4 separate regions of the Homo sapiens genome follow, and regions 2, 3 and 4 are each linked to region 1. The links are contacts of gene promoters, found by promoter capture Hi-C in blood cells and fetal thymus (Javierre and others, 2016). All regions are on one chromosome and are shown on one strand. Each heading gives the region's core, a stretch centred on a gene start or on the middle of the fragment in contact. The rest is flanking DNA. Distances are from core to core; before and after follow the strand shown. Region 1 holds the start of TSPAN5 (tetraspanin 5). Region 2 overlaps LOC105377343 (a long non-coding RNA gene). Region 3 overlaps TSPAN5 (tetraspanin 5). Region 4 overlaps EIF4E (eukaryotic translation initiation factor 4E).

Region 1 (2,700 bases), core at 144-2,643:
TATCTCTAAATGTGGTTTATTGCAGGAAAAAGTAGCTTCTTGACTAGCCAAAACTTGACTGCCGGTTGTCAACTAGCCAGTTTTTGAGAAAAGTGAGAGGTTGTTACGTAGGAAACCTTATAACTAGAGGCTCTCAAACTCAAGTATTTAAGTATCATCTTTTAGATTTCTGTGTCCAGGATCGGGTTGCACTGGGTGGTGCTGGAAAAATTTTTTGATCTCACCTCCTTCTAGCCTTTTGAATCCTTAAAAATATTCCCATAGACATTTATACACAGTCCTGGGCGGTTCTTCCTTCTCCTTCCGTGAAATACTGGTACCTGCTTTGCCAACACCTATGAAAGTGCTCCAGGAGGAGGGCGGATAAGCAACTAATGAGCACACCTGCTCAGGTAGGGTTCTAAAACAATTTCCAGCCACCTGTTCTATTCTTCCCCAGAGTTCAAAAGCTTAATGGTTCGTGATCCAAAAACCCAATTCAGATTCCCCAGAAGACCTCCCTGGAATCCGTTGTGGATTCCTTCCTAGAGTTAGGAGGCAAGCAGGTTTCTTAGGCACTATTCTGTCGGGGTAGGGGGGAGCGTGCGCTGTCCGGGTTTGTGTGGTTGCAATAGACCCTAGGGCGAGGATCGCATCCCGGGCCAGGACTCCCTTGAGCCATCTCTTTTTCCTCGTCCCCATTTCTAGGATAAAACCCATTTCTCCGGTAGGTGGGGAGGTTGGGTTAGAGTCACACAGGGATTCAGGAAGCTTTCCTTTTCAACGTCCCATCCCTTCATCCTTTCCTCCCACTTCCCGTGGCTCTTTTCTCCACCTTCCCCAACTACCCCCTTTTCCATTCAGCGAAGTCCACGACGACTTTCCTTCCCTGTCCAGTGGCATCGCATCTTCTCTAGCCACATAAGCCTGTTGTGGAGGAGGGGGCGCCAGTGTGGCTACCCTGGAAGGGGTGTCGGGGGTGGCTCGCAGGTCCTCACTCACCCAGCCCTCTCCCCGAGGAGCGACCCTCTCGCCCGCGTCCCTCCAGAGCTGCGCCGCTCATCAATCCCGGTCACTCTGCCAGCCTGCTCCCCGGGCGCCCTTCCTTCTCCCTCTCGCCTGCGGTCCTCCACCCTCCCACCCCCTACCTACCCCGCAGCGACGTTCGGGGTCAGCGGCGCTTGGGGTTGGCCCGAGAAGGGGCGGGGATAAAGCGAGCGGTGGAAGGAGGCGGCTACGTGGTGCCACCGCCGCCCGGGAGCGCCCGACCCCGTGCGCGCGCGCGCCTAGCCAAGGCTTGGGCGGCGGGCGGAGCTGCGGGCGGCGCGGGCGGAGGAGCAGCCGGCCGGGCGGGCGGAGCGAGAGGCGGGCGGAGCGAGGGGTGGGAGGGCGCGCGCGAACGGGCGGGCGAGCAAGCGAGCGGCGTCTCCACCAGCATCTGCCGCGGCCGCCTTTGCCCGAAGCCCGGGGACGAACCGACGGACCGACCGCCTGGCGCACGGACGCGGGCGCTCGCTTTGTGTTCGGGGCTAGCGTCGGCGAGGCTTGAGCTTGCAGCGCGCGGCTTCCCTGCTTTCTCGCGGCCACCCCGGCTCCGGCGGCCTCGGCGCGCGAGGGGCTGGAGGTGCGGGAGCCGCTCTCCGCCGGTCGGTCCCCGCGCGGCTGAGCCCAGGCCGCCAGCGCCGCGGCCCCGTGCGGTGTCCCTGAGCTCCTGCTCCCCGCCGGGCTGCTCCGAGCAACGGTGCTTCGGAGCTCCAAACTCGGGCTGCCGGGGCAAGTGTCTTCATGAACCCAGAGGATGTCCGGGAAGCACTACAAGGGTCCTGAAGTCAGTTGTTGCATCAAATACTTCATATTTGGCTTCAATGTCATATTTTGGGTAAGTTGGAGCGCTCCTGGGATTCCAACTATTGTGGCCGATCGATTCGCGACGATTTCCCCCACGTTGTTCGTTGCCTTTACTTTTCGCAGCCCCGCAGGCGCTTGCCGGAGCAGCATAGAGGCATTCGCCTTCCGCCTTTCCAGCTTGCGCGTTGGAGAGATAAACATTTAATCCTTTCGAGGAATGGGAAGAGGTGAAAAGAGAAATCGAGGCGGAAAGGGGGCACCGAGGCCTTCTGGTGGCTTTTTGAGGAACGAATAGCAGGGATGCAGATAAAAGAAAGGGTTCGGCAGTTTGAGAAATGAGCAACCACACGAATTGGATTTGCTCTCGGTGGGATATAGATGTTGGGCAGAGCGTGGTGTCATAATAGGGAAGGCTAATCGGGCACGGCCGACCCTGAGGTCCACCTTCTAACAACGATCTGATTGGACGAGGGCTTGGCTCCGTGTTGCCGCGGCTGGTCTGTGCCATGCTCAGCGTGTATCTTCTTGCACCATCTCGGGCTTTGTGTAGGATGCAGATGCCGTGGTATATGGTCCTGTAATTGCACGTAAATAACGTTTCCTGCACGCTCTCCTCTTCAGCTGGAAAGCGCTCCCTGTGCGTAATGGACTGGTCAGTGGGGGTGCGGGGTAGAGGGATTTATTTGTATGTATATATCATCGTCAGGATAATAAGTCACCGTCAACATATATTTCAGTGTGTTCCTGCCCCACGTCCTCATTTTTAAAGGAGTGACACAGAGCGGGCCGTTTGGGGGAACCTTTGTAGAAATGCAAAGGAGAAGGTGTGCGAGGCATGTTTTATTGGGGAACCGAGAGAGCAAATGCTTTAAC
Region 2 (2,700 bases), core at 2-2,501, 170 kb before region 1:
GCTGAGGCAGGAGAATCGCTTGAGCACAGGAGGCGGAGGTTGCAGTGAGTCAAGATCTCCCCACGGCACTCCAGCCTGGGCAACAGAATGAGACTCTGGAGAGTTATTTGAATGTTAGCTTCATAAAAGGTCAGCTACATTGCTCCCTTTTTCATCAGTTTCACGTAGATTAGGGAAAGCTTCACCACACAACTCCTCTGGTCCAGGGACCAGCCACTGTTTCAATCAGGTGTGAAGAGCCTCCTTGCCTGGAAGGCCGAGGTCCTGGGAGACAAATGTCCCGCCCTAGGCAATAGATCTCCTGAGGCCACCTCTAAGCTGCAGTGTTTGGGAGAAAAGTTGGGTTATGTTTGTTGATTGGTTGGTTCTGTTTTCAATATTGCTTGCTATTTCTTTTATGTTGTTTCTTTCTCTTAACACCCTTTTCTTTCTCATTTTTCCTTCATTGTTACACAATCTATTCTCCTGAATCCATTACCTTAATTGGAAAACTCAGAATAAAAATTACACAACACTTTTTTAAATCCAGCAGAGCCAGTCAGGGAGAAGCTGATTTCTCCATGGGAGGAAGTCAGGGGACGAGGGATAGAACAAGGTAGAATGGTTGTCCTAAATGCCCTTTTTGAATTTGGCACATTACATTCTTTCACCATTGCCTCAGCCTTTGCATGCTCAGCAAGGAAGCACTTTGAGTCAATTATTCTTTGAAATGTTTCTTTCAGTGCCACTGTGAGTTGGTGACATTTTCCTTGGCTGCCTCTCATGACCTATTTATAGTACCTGTTTTAAAAATATGCCTGGTTTGACACTTCAGAGTCTATCAGAAGTATGGGAACATGAATAAAAAAGGGTATGAAAATTAGCAAAAAATAAACAAACCTATACACACACACACACACACACACACACACACACACACACACACACGGGTTTTATGACTACTCCTAGATTATTTGTTTGTGTGTATATATATATATATAATAGATTATTTGTGTGTGTGTGTGTATATATATATGTATATATATATATGTAAAATCTGGGAGTAGTCATAAAAGTCTAGATTTCTCTGGTCTTCAATAGCAGAGTCAAGGTGAGAGCTACTGAGCTATATCTCAGTTTCTCCATTTGTCAATGTCCAAGAGGCAAAGAAGAAGTCAGTCTGAAGAGGCACAAAATGGGGACCCACACAAGTTCATTTTGCCCCTTCTGCGTGAGCAAACACACCTATATGACCAACTCCAGCCCTGAAGGAGAAGCGACTCTCAGAGTATGGAGAAGACATTCTTTAACATTATCAATGTTGGTCAACATGAGCTCTCAACCCAGAGCACCCTTGCCCACATGTTATGAGTCCCCCGTGCTGAGAAGGCATTTTACTGATCATATTGCCTTCTCTTCTAGATTCTGGGTTTTTCACAGATCCAGCCTGTAGCTACTTTCTTCAACCTCATTTATGCTCTCTTTCTTTTTGTTTTGAAACAGAGTCTCACTTTGTCACCCAGGCTAGAGTGCAGTGGCGTAATCATACCTCATTGCAGCCTCAAACTCCTCAGCCCAAGCAATCTTCCTGCCTCAGCCTCCTGAGTAGTTGGGACTACAGGTGCGTGCCACCATGCCCAGCTGATTTTAAAATATTTTGTGGAGACAAGATCTCCTATGTTGTCCACGCTGGTTTCTAACTCCTGTCTTCAAGTGATCCTCCCACCTTGGCTTCCCAAAGTGTTGGGATTACAGGTATGAGCCATTGCACCTGGCTCCCCCATCTGTGGTCTCTTGATGGGCAGACAATACATTTCATGCAGAAGGAGCAAAAACATGGCTGGATCAACTATACTTTCTGGGTAGGTTACCTGTGTTTTGGAAACATTTTCCAATTATATCAAGTTAGGTAAAATTCCATTCATTTCATCATGAAGCAAATGATACATGAATTCAATATTTTTCCTTTATTCTTTCCTTACAGCTCTTAATTATCTGCACATAATCATTTGGAAATATTTTTATTTATATTTCAATATAAATAGAGTCCTCTGGTTCAAAATTTCAAAAATGGAAAAGGCAACCCAGTAAATGGCCTCCTTCTGTCCACGCCCCCAGTCATCTAGTGCCTGTTGCCAGAGGCCTTCAGAGTTTCCAGTTTCTTGTCTATTCTCTTGGGGAAGGGGCTGGGGAAGGACTTCTTTTGTTCATCCACAAGGTTTACCTGAAAAGTGTTTTTTCCCTAACTCTCCTGGCCTCGGCCCCCATCCCTTTCTCCTCTCCTCAGAAAATAATGAGTTATATGATTGATGAGGGTGGCAGAAAAATTGGTGCACGAAGCTTAGTTATTTCGTGCCCTTCCTTTTTGGAGCAAGGTGACTCCAGCAAACAGACTTTTTGCTCTCCAATCATGTTTAAGCATGGACAAGAGTGGCCCTCACATGGGGAGGGTTGTGGGGGCCCAGCCCAAGTGAATGAGACTGCCTAGTTCTTGGGTTTAGTACTGGGGAATCTACTGTTGGCGCATACCTGAGTTGTGTTCTCTGACATGAGCTTTATCAATAATAAAAGTAATATTTTGAATTCCCATTGCCATTCTTTGTTTTCTATCAACCACAATGTATATAGACACAGAGATATAGACACTTGTAATTTTCCCCTCCTTTCCTTTAAAAAATTAAGTGATGGTGTACTAAATATCTTGCTCTCCATCTAGGAGAT
Region 3 (2,700 bases), core at 21-2,520, 140 kb after region 1:
ATATTGTGCTTAGGTAAGAGACTTTTTAATTACACTTTTAATGGCAATAATAGTGTGTTTATTGAGTGCCTACTATACATAAAACACATACCTTAACTCATTGATCCTCATATCAATGCTATGTGAATGCTAGGCAATAGTCTGTATTTATGGGAGAGAAAATTGAGAGTGTCAGCTTGCCCAGGCCACATCCATTAAATGCTGGGGCCCAGATTTGAACCAAGGTTTGTCATCAGAGGTCAGGCTCATTTGGCTGTGTCACTATTTATAATTTGTATGGTCCCTTTATACTTTCTGTTTTAACTTCAGGAAATTAGCAGTCCTCTTAATTTTTAAAGATAAAAGCTGGGCACGGTGGCTTATGCCTGTAATCCCAGCACTTTGGGAGGCCGAGGCAGGTGGATCACTTGAGGCCAAGAGTTCATGTTGACCAGCCTGGCCAACATGGCGAAACCTTGTCTCTACTAAAAAATACAAAAATTAGCCAGGTGTGGTGGTGCACACCTGTAATCCCAGCTATTCAAGAGGCTGAGGCAAAAGAATCACTTGAACCCGGGAGGCAGAGGTTGCAGTGAGCCGAGCACGCGCCTCTGCACTCCAGCCTGGGCAACAGACGGAGACTCTGTCTCAAAAAAAAACCATAATTTTTATTTCCATGTTGATTTTTTAATATTCATCTGAATTAGTAAATCATTTTAGAAGCTTGCTGATCTCTAGCACATGCTTTTATATCTTCAACTCACTTTAATGTCATGCCACTTTTATTCAGAGAACAAAAAGTTATGGATGTCTTTAAACCAGAGGAAATAAGGGACGCTTATTCACATCCCTCATGCTGTTGTTCATCAGGAGACTCTTCCAAACAATTCTAACAGAAAAGGAAAATTCCAGAGTGCACACACATGGATAGTTTCCAAGGCAGTGCTTGTTGAGAACCCAGCCTTCTCTCCTGAAGCTGTGAATAGTTTGTCTTATATGTAAATTAATTTCCAAGAGTCTGTGCATTAAAGTCTTATATAAAAGAACATATAAAAGAATGATTTGTCAAAACCCATTTTCCTTGTAAAAAATACCTAACTAAGGAGAGAGGATGATATTCGGTGGCTTCTGTGGGCTCTGTGTTAAGCCAGTACTTTACTTCTTAGTATGCAGTGCTGATGTTCTTGGTTGAAAGGAATCCATTCCATTTCTTTTTATAGTATCATGAAAAGTTGGAAAGAGGAAAAACTGAGCTGAACATACAGAATAAATAACTAAATGGTGTCGTCAGGCTGCCCTTTTGTTTTCAGACATCCCCCCTCCTTCCTCCTTTGTGAGTCACTGAGCCAGTAAGATGGATCAAAGATGCCTCAGTGTATAGAACATTTTATGTGGAGGTTATTTGTCATCCACAACAAAGGACTAATTGCCTCTGTGCCTTCTTTCACATGATAATCAATGGATTGGGATCTCCTGATTATGCCCCATGCATCCTGCATTCATCTCTCAAGATGTTTTAGGTTTTGATTGAATTTATAAAGCATCAGAAAGATGACGTCAGTTCAGTGCAACTATTAAGGGGATTTTAAACATGGGTATGGAAATATGAAAACAGAGCTTGAAGTGAAGGCACCTGTCATCATTCTTTTTGTAAATGGTTGATTTGATCGGAGGTATAACTTCTATGATAGCTATTAAGAAGGGTCCTGGCATTTTTAAGATGGAGCGTTTATTTCAAAAGGCCCACCAGGAGAAAATTCACTTCCTGTTTCAGCGTGGACTTGAGGTTCTCAGAGATGACTTCTTGGATGACTTTGTTGCTAATGTTATCAATCAGGTTTCATTTTAAAGAAGCTTTCTGAATTCTAACAAGAAGTCAGTGTACTCTGAGTATAGTTTTCTGTAGTGGATTTGCCTAATGTGGGGGTTGGGCACATAGGCCACGGGAGCGTGTAAGTGTAGGAAACACCATTCAGCTCATTCTGTACAATGTCTGAAGCTTTGAAGTTACATTCTCCTGGCATTTCAATTATTTCAAAGGCAAGATGTTTACTAAAATGTACCTGAAACATGGAGTTATTTCTTAGGAACTTTTAATATTTACAGTTAAATTAGAACACTTTAAAATGAAAGAATGATATATTGACTGTAGCACAGACATCTGTTTAATAACAGTCACTTTTCCTCTCTTTAAATGTATAAATGTCCTGTGTTTCTTAGAAAAGAAAGATTTCATCAGTGAAACAAACAAAAAAAACAGAACCCACAAAAACAAAATAAAATTCAAAAACACACACAGATATATAGGCATAGAGAGAGCATTTGTGATAAGTGTTTTAAAAATAGCTATTAATATCTCAGCAGCCTCCTCAGCTCTGATGGTGCTGACATCCCACAGGGCAAGCTGAAGCAAGCCAGGGGGCTGGAGAACAATCTAAGACACCAAACTCTTCTGTGGAACAATAACACTGAGTGTCAAGGACTGTGAAGGGTCTGAGATTTCACCCTGCATGCCAGCAAACAAGTTATCCTGCCACAGTGTCACAAATCCTGGCAGAAGGCATCACACTGCTGGGGCAGACACATAGGACTTTATTAATCACAGCAATGCCAGGAACCAGAGGATCAATATTTTTGTACACTTTCCCTGAGCCCTAATTCTTACAGGGTGGTGCAGAGAGGGCCAGGTGATACATAGTGAGTTGTATTCTAGGAGAGGAA
Region 4 (2,721 bases), core at 137-2,636, 240 kb before region 1:
TAGATTATGAGACTAGTTTTAGATATGCTAAGGTTGAGGGTTCTATTTTCACTTGGATGACCCATGACCAGCAGACAGTTTTATGTGTGAGTCTTGAGTTCAAAAGGAGCTATGTGAGAGATTAGTTTGAAAAGTATTGGTCATAATGGAAGCCACATTAGTAAATAAGTTCCCTTAAGGAGAAGTGAACTTGACTCAGGACAAAGACCGGGGATACTAGCATCATATAGGAGGCTTTTGTTGAAGAAGAATGCCTATGAAGGATGGACATACAAAGACAGTGGTGGTCGCCCAACGCGGTGGCTCACGCCTGTAAACCCAGCACTTCAGGAGGCGGAGGCGGAGGCGGAGGCGGGCGGATCACCTGAGGTCAGGAGTTTGAGACCAACCTGGCCAACATGGTGAAACCCCGTCTCTACTAAAAAATACAAAAATTAGCTGGGTATGGTGGCAGACGCCTGTAATCCCAGCTGCTCGGGAGGCTGAGGTGAGATAATTGCTTGAACCCAGGAGGTGCAGGTTGCAGTGAACTGAGATCGCGCCATTGCCTGCCAGCCTGGGCAACAAGAGCGAAACTCCATCTCAAAAAAAAAAAAAAGAGACAGTGGTGGTCATGGAAACCAAGAAGGTGGTTTATTCTAAGATAGGGTGGTTTACAGCACATGTGCTAAAAAGGTCAAATGAAGCAAGATGTCAAAATATCCATTGGATTGAACACTTTTAAAAAAGTCCGTGCTGACTTGGGAAAAAGTTTTTTAGTAAGGTTCCATAGAGTAGTTCCATAAAACATGGAAAAAGAGATTAGGGCAGTTTGAAGAGTGAATAGGAGATATACAGATGTATAGAGTAAGAACAGGTGACTTGAAGTTGGACTGAGAATGAGAAACGAGAGCCAGGGAATGTGGAGTTTGAAGGTTGGTTGGTTTGTAAGTGAGAGACTAGAAAAGGGGACAGATTAAAATTAGTTAAGTTTTCATAGTTAATAGTGTAACAGGAAATTGAGTATTAGTTCATTATATGGCTTTTCCCAACTCTTCCCACTCCTTTCCAGTAGGTTTGTTTTTATTTATTTTCTGGGGTATATGAGAATTAACTTGAGTTCACTGAATGCTGATGGTGGGAAGAAAATGGCAGTTCAGAAACATTGTAACAATCTAGAGGAAAGTAAATTGGAATTAACTTCTGAGGTTCTTGAAGTATTTCAGTTCATTTCTTGTCTTTTTTTGTTTTTATTTACTTTTTTTAGGGCAGACCATTCACTCTCTACTTAAAAGAGTCCACAAGTCTATTTATAATTGTTTCATTTATTAAAATTTTTTTATGATCTCAATTTTTTTAAATGTTTCCTTTATTCATCATGGAAGACCTACTGAAATAAATAGTTCAAATATGCTGTATGCAGTTTTCTCATAGGAGACCCTTTGGTTCAGTATATCCTCCAGTGAGGAACAAATCAGTTTTTTAGACAATGGAGATTCTCAGCTAGTGGGACATCAGAGGTCAAACAGTCTATAAAGGATAAAATCCTTCCTCAGGGAAGCAATGTACCACATGTATTAGGTTGAACAATTCGTTAGAGGCAGTCTTATATAGTTTAACCTAATAGTAGCACCAAAACCCACATTTTTTTTTCATTTTTTTCAGTGATATGAAACAAACTGTATATCTTCTAGCTGTCTGTGAACCTAGTTCTTGGTGTCACTTTTATTGTGGGGAGAAGTAAACAAGGCATATATCCCTCACAGCTTGAATGGAGTCTAAGAAGGGATTCTTAAGTGTCCTCATCAGTTTAAAAAAAAAAAAAAAGTTTAAATCTTAAAATGAAGTCTCTGGGGACTTCAGTTTCTCTATAAATTCTACTTTTTGTGTAAAATAGCAAGTATCATTTGGAAAAATACTATGTTTTATGGCTCCAATTTTGGCAGTTTTCTCATTATTTACTTCTTGCATTTTACTTTCTTCACTCCCCAGAGTAGTCAATGTTAAATTTGGTTTGTATTCCAGAAGTATTAAATGCACATATGTATACTTTTTAATACATACGTCTATACAGTTGACTTTTCTGTTTGTATGTGCATATTTTACCTCATTGTTTTAAACCACCGTCTTGCATTATATTGATATACCACCATATATTTTATTAGGTTTACATTAATGGCTGTATAGATTTTTCTTTTTACACACAGTGCTGTAATTTACATCCTTACATAATTGTGCACTTGTGTGAATATATAGGGTAAAATTTCAGATCTCCTAGAACAAAGATTACCCTTTAACAACCTTTGCGCAGATACTGCCACATTATTCTGTTTTATTGGCTTAGACTTAACAGTTTGAGAGTTCCTGGTTTCTATATCCTTGCTAACTCATGTGATTAGTCTTTTAAGTTGTTGCCAATCAGATTGGTCCCAGTCTGATTTGGGAAAACAATTTCAGTATTTTCAATTTGCATTTTAAAATTGAAGTTTCAAAATATTTTCATATTGATGATTTGTGGTTTTTATCTGAGGACAGATTATTCAGTTCTTCTATTTTTTTTCTTTTGGATTATCTTTTTTTTCCCCTACTTTCAAGCTAACAAGTTATGGAATATCTTTTCAAGTTTATTTCCAAGCATTTTATATTAGAGTGCTAACTCACCCAAGGCAGGGAAGTTGGAGGAGTATTAAGTCAGAAAGAAACAGGTTATCCATATCATTTGTCTTCTAACATTGTCTGTGG

What was found. The method cuts DNA at HindIII sites, captures the fragments that hold promoters and counts their contacts. A CHiCAGO score of 5 or more calls a contact.
Region 2: a contact is called between a fragment that was not itself captured here and the fragment with the promoter of TSPAN5 in region 1, in 1 of 17 cell types (activated CD4 T cells). The highest score is 5.4, in activated CD4 T cells.
Region 3: a contact is called between a fragment that was not itself captured here and the fragment with the promoter of TSPAN5 in region 1, in 2 of 17 cell types (endothelial precursors and activated CD4 T cells). The highest score is 9.6, in endothelial precursors.
Region 4: a contact is called between a fragment that was not itself captured here and the fragment with the promoter of TSPAN5 in region 1, in 2 of 17 cell types (erythroblasts and activated CD4 T cells). The highest score is 5.8, in erythroblasts.

Annotation. Positions count from the first base shown.
Region 1 is chr4:98,657,304-98,660,003 of GRCh38, reverse strand. It overlaps TSPAN5 (tetraspanin 5), which reads left to right and starts at 1,393. Exons shown (of 8, transcript NM_005723.4): 1 at 1,393-1,858. The coding sequence starts at 1,778. TSPAN5-DT (TSPAN5 divergent transcript) reads right to left here and starts at 1,102. Exons shown (of 3, transcript NR_148380.1): 1 at 982-1,102. LOC112267901 (a long non-coding RNA gene) reads right to left here and starts at 1,281. Exons shown (of 3, transcript XR_939016.3): 1 at 1,132-1,281. RefSeq lists silencers at 1,236-1,415, 1,669-1,828. The HindIII fragment of the contact is 4,978 bases long and covers 753-2,700 here.
Region 2 is chr4:98,831,600-98,834,299 of GRCh38, reverse strand. The region is part of intron 2 of LOC105377343 (a long non-coding RNA gene); the gene reads left to right. Among named protein-coding and RNA genes, the nearest start is that of EIF4E, 96 kb to the left of the region's middle. The HindIII fragment of the contact is 2,140 bases long and covers 182-2,321 here.
Region 3 is chr4:98,521,382-98,524,081 of GRCh38, reverse strand. The region is part of intron 1 of TSPAN5 (tetraspanin 5); the gene reads left to right. Among named protein-coding and RNA genes, the nearest start is that of TSPAN5, 140 kb to the left of the region's middle. The HindIII fragment of the contact is 1,131 bases long and covers 705-1,835 here.
Region 4 is chr4:98,899,078-98,901,798 of GRCh38, reverse strand. All of the region lies in intron 2 of EIF4E (eukaryotic translation initiation factor 4E), which reads left to right. Among named protein-coding and RNA genes, the nearest start is that of EIF4E, 29 kb to the left of the region's middle. The HindIII fragment of the contact is 2,911 bases long and covers 1-2,721 here.